2 separate regions of the Homo sapiens genome follow, and region 2 is linked to region 1. Evidence: promoter capture Hi-C in 16 types of primary human blood cells and fetal thymus (Javierre and others, 2016). All regions are on one chromosome and are shown on one strand. The core of a region is centred on a gene start or on the middle of the fragment in contact, and the rest is flanking DNA. Distances in the headings are between cores, read along the strand shown.

Region 1 (4,192 bases), core at 706-3,205:
CAGGAACTCTGTGCTTATTGCCATGTGACAATAGCATTAGGAAGTCTGATTGGATGAGTGCGAAGCATGACAGCAAAATACACAGACACACACACACACTCACTCACTCCTTAAACTGAAGGAACTGCATCAAAAAGTATTTGCAAAACAAACCGAAAAAGAAAAAAACCCATCAAACTTCTTTGAACATGTGTTACTGCAAATCAGGTCCTTAGTTACAGAAGATACTCCTTCCATCATTTAAGACCAAGGGGGCCTCCTTTGAATCAAGCATTTTTGCGGGTCTGCTATGGCCTTAAATCAAATAATAACCTTTTAAAATTCACATAATGTAGGTTATCTAGGCTATTGCTTAGATTTAGTAGAAGTATAGGGTAATGGTTAAGAGTTTCAAATGTCAGAGACCCTCGGGGGCTCCTGACATTTTGGGGTCAGCTGTGTCAATTATTATCTGTGTGTCCTTCAGCAGTCACTTAACCTATCTAGGACCAACATTTTGGTACTTCATCTGCAAAACGAGAATAACTGCATCCTCCTCAGAGGGTTGCTGTGAGGACTACTGTGTGTCTGGAACACAGTTAAGTAATTTCACTACAAAAAAAAAAAATTAAATAGCATCATCTTTGACTATTCAAAACACATCACTTTTCAGCCAAAGACAAAGAGCAAATAACTGGAGTAGGAAACAAAATAAACGAAAGCAATAGGCCAAGTGATATACTTCCAAATTTTCTGGATAATTAAAGACCGACGCCTTGACTTCATAAAGAAGTACTGTACTCAATTTTCTAGAAAATGCTTAGAATTGCTTCAAGAATAAAAGTGAGCTAGATGTTAGGAGGTCGGATTCCTAGTCGTGAGTATAGTCCTATCTACCTATTTGACTACTGATAATTTATTTGACCTTTTTATCTATTCACACATCTAGTAATATCATATTCTGCTGTAATTTCTCTCCATCTATGCGTCTCCTCAGTCCTCCACCCCTTATGTAGGCAACGTCTCTAAGGCAAGATCCATACCTCCAGCATCTTTGCATCTCCACCGCCCAGCTCGCCATAAGTTCCCAACAAATAATGAATTGGTATCGCTTTACCTATAAGGGATTTATCCTAATCTAGTTCTAGTAATTTGTAAAATTCCAGGGCAGAAATTCAGCAAAAGAGCGAGATCTTCTTTCATTAAATTCTGAATACTGTCAACTTATGGGATCGATCCTTAAATCCACAATCTACGACTCATTTGTCCGTATGCAGAAATGCCGGTTTCCTTTGTGTCCCGTGGACCTTTTGTCTACTAGAAAAGGCAGATATTGCCTCATTTTGATAAAATGTCCATTCTACGGTTTAAAAGGTTAGCTTTTCTCTTAAGTCTCTTAGGTTTGATTCATCAAATCATCCAGTGAACAGCAGGCGCTCCAATGTTCACCTCTGCTGTGTAGGAACCAAACCCGACCTTCCCGGCCCCGCCTCCGACTGTCTCTAACTACGCGGTATCTCACCTCGTGGTCGCCGCAAGCCTCGGGCTCCGGGTGTACAGCGAACCCAAAGAGGACCTGCTCGTAGCAACCAGCGACCAGCTCCATTCAGCAGCGCACGTGCCTCTTCCGCCAGCCCGGCTCAGCCTGGAGGTGACAGAACCGGAAACCAAAAAAAAAAAAAAAAAAACACCTGACTCCTTTCTGCATCGGCGCTCGAATTATACGTCAGGCTCCAGGGCTGCCTTTAAGTCGCCTGTAACGTGGAAACACTTTAAGCGCGGGGAGGTCACATGGATTTTCCAAGAAGAGAATAAGTAAAGATGCCACATGAGGAGGTTCTCACTGCAAGGAGAAAAAAATCGGGGGCAAGCAGGCATATCTCAGGAAGGTGCCAGCTACGCCCGTCTGAAGGGAGCGGGCGGGACATCCTCTGCGAAGCCCTTCATTTCCGTGACATCAGGAGGAGGTGGGGCCGACTTCCGGCCGGTTGCTTAGGGGCTGTAGCGCCGGCAGCGTGCATTGTTGTGGGCTGTGTACTAGTAGGGTAGGAGTTTTTGTTCAGGGACCAGCGGAACGAGGCTTTCTGTCGTTAATAGGGTAAGGAGGGGTGGGATTAGGGTTCGCGGTGACTTGTTCCAGCGGCGCAGCGCTCGCGCTGCCTTGACGGACTCGGAGTGCTAGATGTGTCCGCGTTCCCGTCTGCCCGGGCCAGAACCCCAGCCCTGCACACTTTCTCTGTCTGCTTGTCTAACTCTGGGGCTGTATTGGCCAAGGTTGCGGCACCTCCTGGGGAGGGAGCAGTGAGCCTTCATTTTTTTTTTTTTTTTTTTGAGACGGAGTTTCGCTCTTTTTGCCCAGGCTGGAGTCCGGTGGCGCGATTTCGGCTCACCGCAACCTCTGCCTCCCGGGTTCAAGCAATTCTCCTGCCTCAGCCTCCCGAGTAGCTGGGATTACAGGCATACGCCACCACGCCTGGCTAATTTTGTATTTTTTAGTAGAGACAGGGTTTCTCCATGTTGGCTAGGCTGGTTTTGAACTCCCGACCGCAGGTGATCCGCTTGCCTCGACCTCCCAAAGTTGCTGGGATTGCAGGCGTGAGCCACAGCGCCCGGCCAGAGCCTTCATTTGAGAGTTGGGAAAACAAAGTGAGCCTGAGCAACATATTTTGATGCCGTCTCTACAAAAATGTTATAAATTAGCCCAGCATGGCGACGCCCGCCTGTGGCCTCAGCAACTCGGAAGGCTGAGGTGGGAGGATTGCTTGAGCCCAGGAGGTCGAGGCTGCAGTGAGCCGAGATCGCTCCACTGCATTCCAGTCTGGGGGACGAGCCAGGCCCCCTTTCAAAGAAAAAAAAAGTTTTATTTAATAAGGTTTAGAGATTCAGGTATGTCTTAGACATTACAGCTTTCCTACAAGCTCCCAACAGAGTAAATCTTGGTTCGTATAGTTCTCATAAACACCGTAGTAGGTCATTTGGTAAACAAGATGCATAGTCCATCCTTCTCAAATCTTCAGCCTCCATTTCAAGTGCGATACAGTGCTTCAGCGCTTAGACCCTTTTGTTTCCAATAACTTTTCTTCTCTGGTGTTCTGAATTGTTAGTACGTGTTAATAGAGGCTAGTTTGGGTCTTGCAGAAATGATTTCATTTGGGATGCTTTGGTTGTCACTGCAGTGCAGAAAAGACCTTGTTATTGTTAGAAATAGATAATTGGTGACACGAAGAAAAGTCAGCATGGAGACAAAAGATCTCTCAGCAAGGCAATTTTTACTTTATGCAGAAAGGGTGCTCAATTGCAGATGGAACGATGGTGAGAGCACTCCTGAACAAAGGAAAAGCAGACATATTTGTCCCTTACGCCTTTGGGTTGTCCTTACTGCTGTGTCCTGCATCCGTTGGCTGGGGCTGGACCTCATAATCTTAAACTGATACCCGATTTGCTAAACAGGCTGTGAGCTGGAACGTGCCTGGGCCTGTGAGCATGTCCCGCAGTTACATACAATAGGGCTTAACAGAGTTATTAGCACAAAGCAAGGAGGCTTGAAGTAAGTTAGTCTTTAAAAGAAACTATTGTTTCTAACATTTATGATTTATTCTTTAACAAGAAGGGAAACTTTGAAGAGGCAACTTTTTACTTTCTACGTCATCTGCCAGCTTTGTCCACGCCAAATGTAAACACTTCTCAAGACACTGAAATGCTGTTGACAAACTAATTCTCAGTCTAGTGGAAATCCTTGTATTCATTCACTCTTCCAAAATCTTTCTTGGCTGGGCACGGTGGCTCACTCCTGTAATCCCAGCACTTTGCGAGGCCTAGGCAGGCGGATTGCTTGAGGTCAGGACTCTGTCTCAAAAAATAAAATAAAATGGCCAGACGCAGTGGCTCACGCATGCCTGTAATCCCAGCACTTTGACGAGATCAAGAGATCGAGACCATCCTGGCCAACATGGTGAAACCCCGTCTCTACTAAAAATACAAAAATTAGCTGGGTGTGGTGGTGGGCGCCTATAGTCCCAGCTACTCGGGAGGGTGAGGCGGGAGAATCGCTTGAATTAGGGAGGTGGAGATTGCAGTGAGCCGAGATCCCGCCACTGCACTCCAGCGTGGGCAAGAGTGAGACTGTCTCAAAAAAAAAGTCATTCTTTCTTTACTTTGTGCTAGTTATCTTCATTGTGTTACAAAAAATCAAATTATTTTAGGATTTAGAATA
Region 2 (4,192 bases), core at 505-3,004, 7.0 Mb before region 1:
ACTAATTTTTTCATTTCTTTGTAGAGAAGGGGTCTCGTTATGTTGCCCAGGCTGGTTTCAATCTCCTGGCCTCAAGTGATCCTCCTGCCTTGGCTTCCCAAAGTGCTGAGATTATGGGTGTGAGCCACATGCCTGACCAGGAATACACTTTAAAATAATAAAGTATGGTAGCAACAGGAAATGGCAAGGAGTGCCTGTTAAAAAAAAAAAAAAGGTATAGTAAATACATAAACCAGAAACAGCCACTTATCATTATGAAGTATTCTGTACTGTACATAATTGTACATACTCCACTTTTACACAAATGGCAACACAGTAGGTTTGTTTATACCAGCATCACCACAAACACGTGAGTAATGTGTTGCAATAAGACCTTAGGACAAAGACAGTATCACCAGGCAATACGAATTTTTCAGCTCTTTATGGGACCACCATTGTATATTGGGCCCATTGTTGATTGAAACATTGTTATGCTGTGCATGAGTGTGATAATTTGTTTTAATAGACATCACAGCAGATACCTCATTTTGTTTTGGTAAGGTGGAATAACTACATAAAATTTCGTAACTTCTTGTACTTGTCATCTTTAAACATTCTTTTGGCCAGAATTGTATTAGTACCTTCTGAAGAATGTATGATGGCTCTTTTTCAATCTAGGTTGGGTTTAGACTAAATTGTATTTCACTTTTAATTAGTGGATACTCCTTATCTATTAGAGATGGGTCAGCAGCCTATTTGCTAATTTATAATTGGCAGCTGGTTACATATATATATATACATATATATATATATTTGTTGTTTTAATTTTTTAATTTTTTTGATATGGAGTCTCACTCTGTGGCCCAGGCTGGAGTGCAGTGGCATGATCTCAGTTCACTGCAACCTCCACCTCCATGGTTCAAGCGATTCTCCTGCCTCAGCTTCCCGAGTGGCTGGGACTACAGGTGAGCACCACCACGCCCAGCTAATTTTTTTTTTTTTTTTTTTAAGTGGAGACAGGTTTCACCATGTTGGCCAGGCTGGTCTCGAACTCCTGACCTCCAGTGATCCACCCGCCTTGGCCTCCCAGAGTGCTGGGATTACAGGTGTGAGCCACTGTGCTCGGCCACTTTCTACTATATTATATGGGGAACAAAATAAAGAAGTTTCTTGGCAGAGGAGGACTATTGTAGCAACAAGCTTTTCATGAATTGCAGTGTCTCCCAATATGCCATTTATTTGGCTGAAAAAACTAGGTCCAGGTTGAATGCAGATTTCCTCCTGTCTCTTTATTCCTTCTCTGCTCTCAAGCCTGGCACGGCTTCCAATGACTCAATCACATGAATGTGAGATTAATGCATTATAGTTCCCTCAAATACTATTTTACTTCCAAGAAATAAAATAATTGTGGAAATGGGTAAAAAGTTGAGAGCATGGGTAAAAGGAATGTGGATTTTCCCATATCTCCTCAAGTTCTACCAATCTTCTATTTCTGAAGCATTGTCTACATTTGGCCCAATTCTTTCGCGTCTCTCTTCCTTTCAAAGGTTGGCTGTGAAGGGTGTCCAGCACATCAAAGAATAGCCTCCAAGAAAGGGGTGAGCTTTGATTCCAGTCAGTCCTCTGTTCTGTGGTGGAAACTCTGGGTCTCATAGAGTGAAGAGGGCAGATGGGATGTGGCTATGGTTTAATCTCCTCTACGTATAACCCAATTAAAGATTCAGGTACAGATCTTCCCTATGAGTTAGCTTATCGTGAATTACTTTACTTGGCTGTCAAATATCTAGCTATGGATTTGTGGAAGAATAGGATTTCTGCATAGGAGGAAGATAGCACCTGAGGGAAACAACTGTCTTTAAGAAAGATGAAGTGCTTCAGGAGGAAGAGGGGGCATACCTGGAGAATTTAGTGGGAAGTTAGTGGTGGGAGGAGGCATGAAGCTAGGATGAGACAGCGGAAAATAGATTAATTTTGTTTATCATATTTGGCAACTTGTCTTGATCTTGATGGTTATGGTCAGAGGTGCCACTGAAAGCCATTGATGTGTACACCTATGCTTGGTATAGCATAGTTTCTTTAGGCGCTGAAAGGTACAAGTTCAAAGGTACTAGAAGACTGGCTTTACAATTTCACTTGTATGATTTAAACAATGAACCTGAATTGTGCAGTTTGATTGTGGAGATAGTATAAATGTCTTGGAACTAATTATTTATATCTGATTGATGGTTGATATTGGATGCTTTCTATCTAAGCAGTTACTATGAACTAGATATACATTAATCCTTTCACCAGACCACTACCCTGTGAGGTCAATATTCGCTCTATTTGCTGATGAAAAAAACGAAGCTTAGAAACAGGATCAGTGGGCTGGGCGCGGTGGCTCACGCCTGTAATCCCAGCACTTTGGGAGGCCGTGGGCAGATCACCTGAGATTGAGAGTTCGAGACCAGCCTGACCAACATGGAGAAACCCCATCTCTAGTAAAAATACAAAATTAGCCGGCCGTCGTGGCACATGCCTGTAATCCCAGCTACTCGGGAGGCTGAGGCAGGAGAATCGCTTGAACCCAGGAGGTGGAGGTTGCTGAGATTGCGCCATTGCACTCCAGCCTGGGCAAAACAAGAGGAAAAAACTTCGTCTCAAAAAAAAAAAAAAAAGAAAGAAACAGGATCAGTAACTTCCCCAAGGCTACACAGCTAGTAAGTGGGAGATTTATAGTAAATAGGCTGGGCGTGGCGGCTCACACGGGTAATCCCAGCACTTTGGGAGGCCAAGGCGGGTGGATCACTTGAGGTCAGGAGTTCAAGGCCAGCCTGGCCAACATGGCGAAACCCCATCTCTACTAAAAATACACAAATCAGCTGGGCGTGGTGGTGCACGCCTGTAGTCCCAGCTACTTAGGAAGCCGAGGCAGGAGAATAGCTTGAACCTGGGAGGCAAAGGGTGCAGTGAGCCAAGATCGCGCCACTGCACTCCAGCCTGGGCGACAGGGCAAGACTCTGTCTCTCAGAAAAAAAGAAAGAAAGAAAGAAAGAAAAAAAAAGATTTATAGTAAGTCTAAGATTTTTCACAACATATTTTTCCTCCCTAATCATTTGGCTATTTGTCTTTAGCTCTTACAGAAAAGTTGGGTTATAGTCCTGGCTTTGATTACCCATCTCAGTGTCATTGATTGTGCCACCTAAATTTCTCTGGACATCTTGTCTGGTTGGTTGAATGAGAGGGTTGGACTATGTGATCACCAGGACCTTTCTAATCGTCAACTCCTAGAATATACATTTTGTGGATTCAGTCTTTGAGTCTAGCTCACTTACTCAGTTTCCTAAATATTTGGAGCAAATATAGTATACTTTTATTGTTAAGGATATATCACTTACCCCTAATGTTAGCTGACTGCATGGGTTATAATTGTAATCATTCATCGCATTTTTCGTCTATTAGCAAATATACATGCTCTCCATAGATGATCACGTCTGCTCCTCACAACAGCTTTATAAGGTGGATTTTAAAGCTCCCATTTTATGGAGGAGGAAGCTAAGGCTCAGACGGTTTTGATTCATCCAAGGTCAAATAGGTTGGGTGGCAGAACCAGAATTCCAGCCCCGTGTGTCTGCAACAAAACCTTTATATGTTTAAAGAAACATTAATGAAGCCGTATATATTTTCTAATTCTAAGGATCATGGACTTTATTTTTCAACCACAGATTTTTTTTTCCTCCTTCTTAAATCATTAGCTCTTGTCTTTGATTTTACTGTCTGCTTACTTCCTGCCTACTTAACCAACCGACAGGGAGAAGGAGAATGGGAAGAGGTTACTGTTTTTATGTTAAGTGTCTTTTCAAAGTCTAATTTACAGCCAAGAACAGCAAAAGTACCCCTTGGCTTTGTGCCTCTGCGGCGCCCCGGAGATCTCCTTCCCCGTCCCTCTTCCTTTCCGAGAAGCCGCGTTCCGTTGTTGAACTACGTTTCCCAGCGTGCCGCGCGGCCGAGAGCGTGGACTCGACCAGCCCTTCCTCTTTGCCTATCAGCTCGTCGCAGCATGATGATGCAAATGCGTCGGGCGCCGATGAGTGACGACATTCTGGCTCGCGACCGCGGCAGCCGCCTTAGCAGGGGTAATAGGCGCAACGGCGGCGGAGGCTGCAGGGACGACGACGACGACGGCGGCGGGGCGGGCGCTGTGCGCACAGGGGAGGGGTAGGCGGGCGTCGCC

What was found. The method cuts DNA at HindIII sites, captures the fragments that hold promoters and counts their contacts. A CHiCAGO score of 5 or more calls a contact.
Region 2: a fragment that was not itself captured here is called in contact with the fragment with the promoter of C6orf52 in region 1 in 4 of 17 cell types (non-activated CD4 T cells, total CD4 T cells, activated CD4 T cells and 1 more); the score reaches 8.0 in non-activated CD4 T cells.

What each region holds. Positions count from the first base shown.
Region 1 is chr6:10,692,379-10,696,570 of GRCh38, reverse strand. C6orf52 (chromosome 6 open reading frame 52) reads left to right here and starts at 1,955. Exons shown (of 5, transcript NM_001145020.3): 1 at 1,955-2,077. PAK1IP1 (PAK1 interacting protein 1) reads right to left here and starts at 1,599. Exons shown (of 10, transcript NM_017906.3): 1 at 1,502-1,599. The coding sequence starts at 1,585. RefSeq lists enhancers at 1,572-1,951, 1,381-1,983, 1,992-2,041. The HindIII fragment of the contact is 16,030 bases long and covers 1-4,192 here.
Region 2 is chr6:17,706,791-17,710,982 of GRCh38, reverse strand. It overlaps NUP153-AS1 (NUP153 antisense RNA 1), which reads right to left and starts at 3,940. Exons shown (of 3, transcript NR_134618.1): 1 at 3,855-3,940; 2 at 3,357-3,589; 3 at 1-194. It overlaps NUP153 (nucleoporin 153), which reads left to right and starts at 4,058. Exons shown (of 22, transcript NM_005124.4): 1 at 4,058-4,192. RefSeq lists enhancers at 3,867-4,136, 3,946-4,192. The HindIII fragment of the contact is 1,146 bases long and covers 1,182-2,327 here.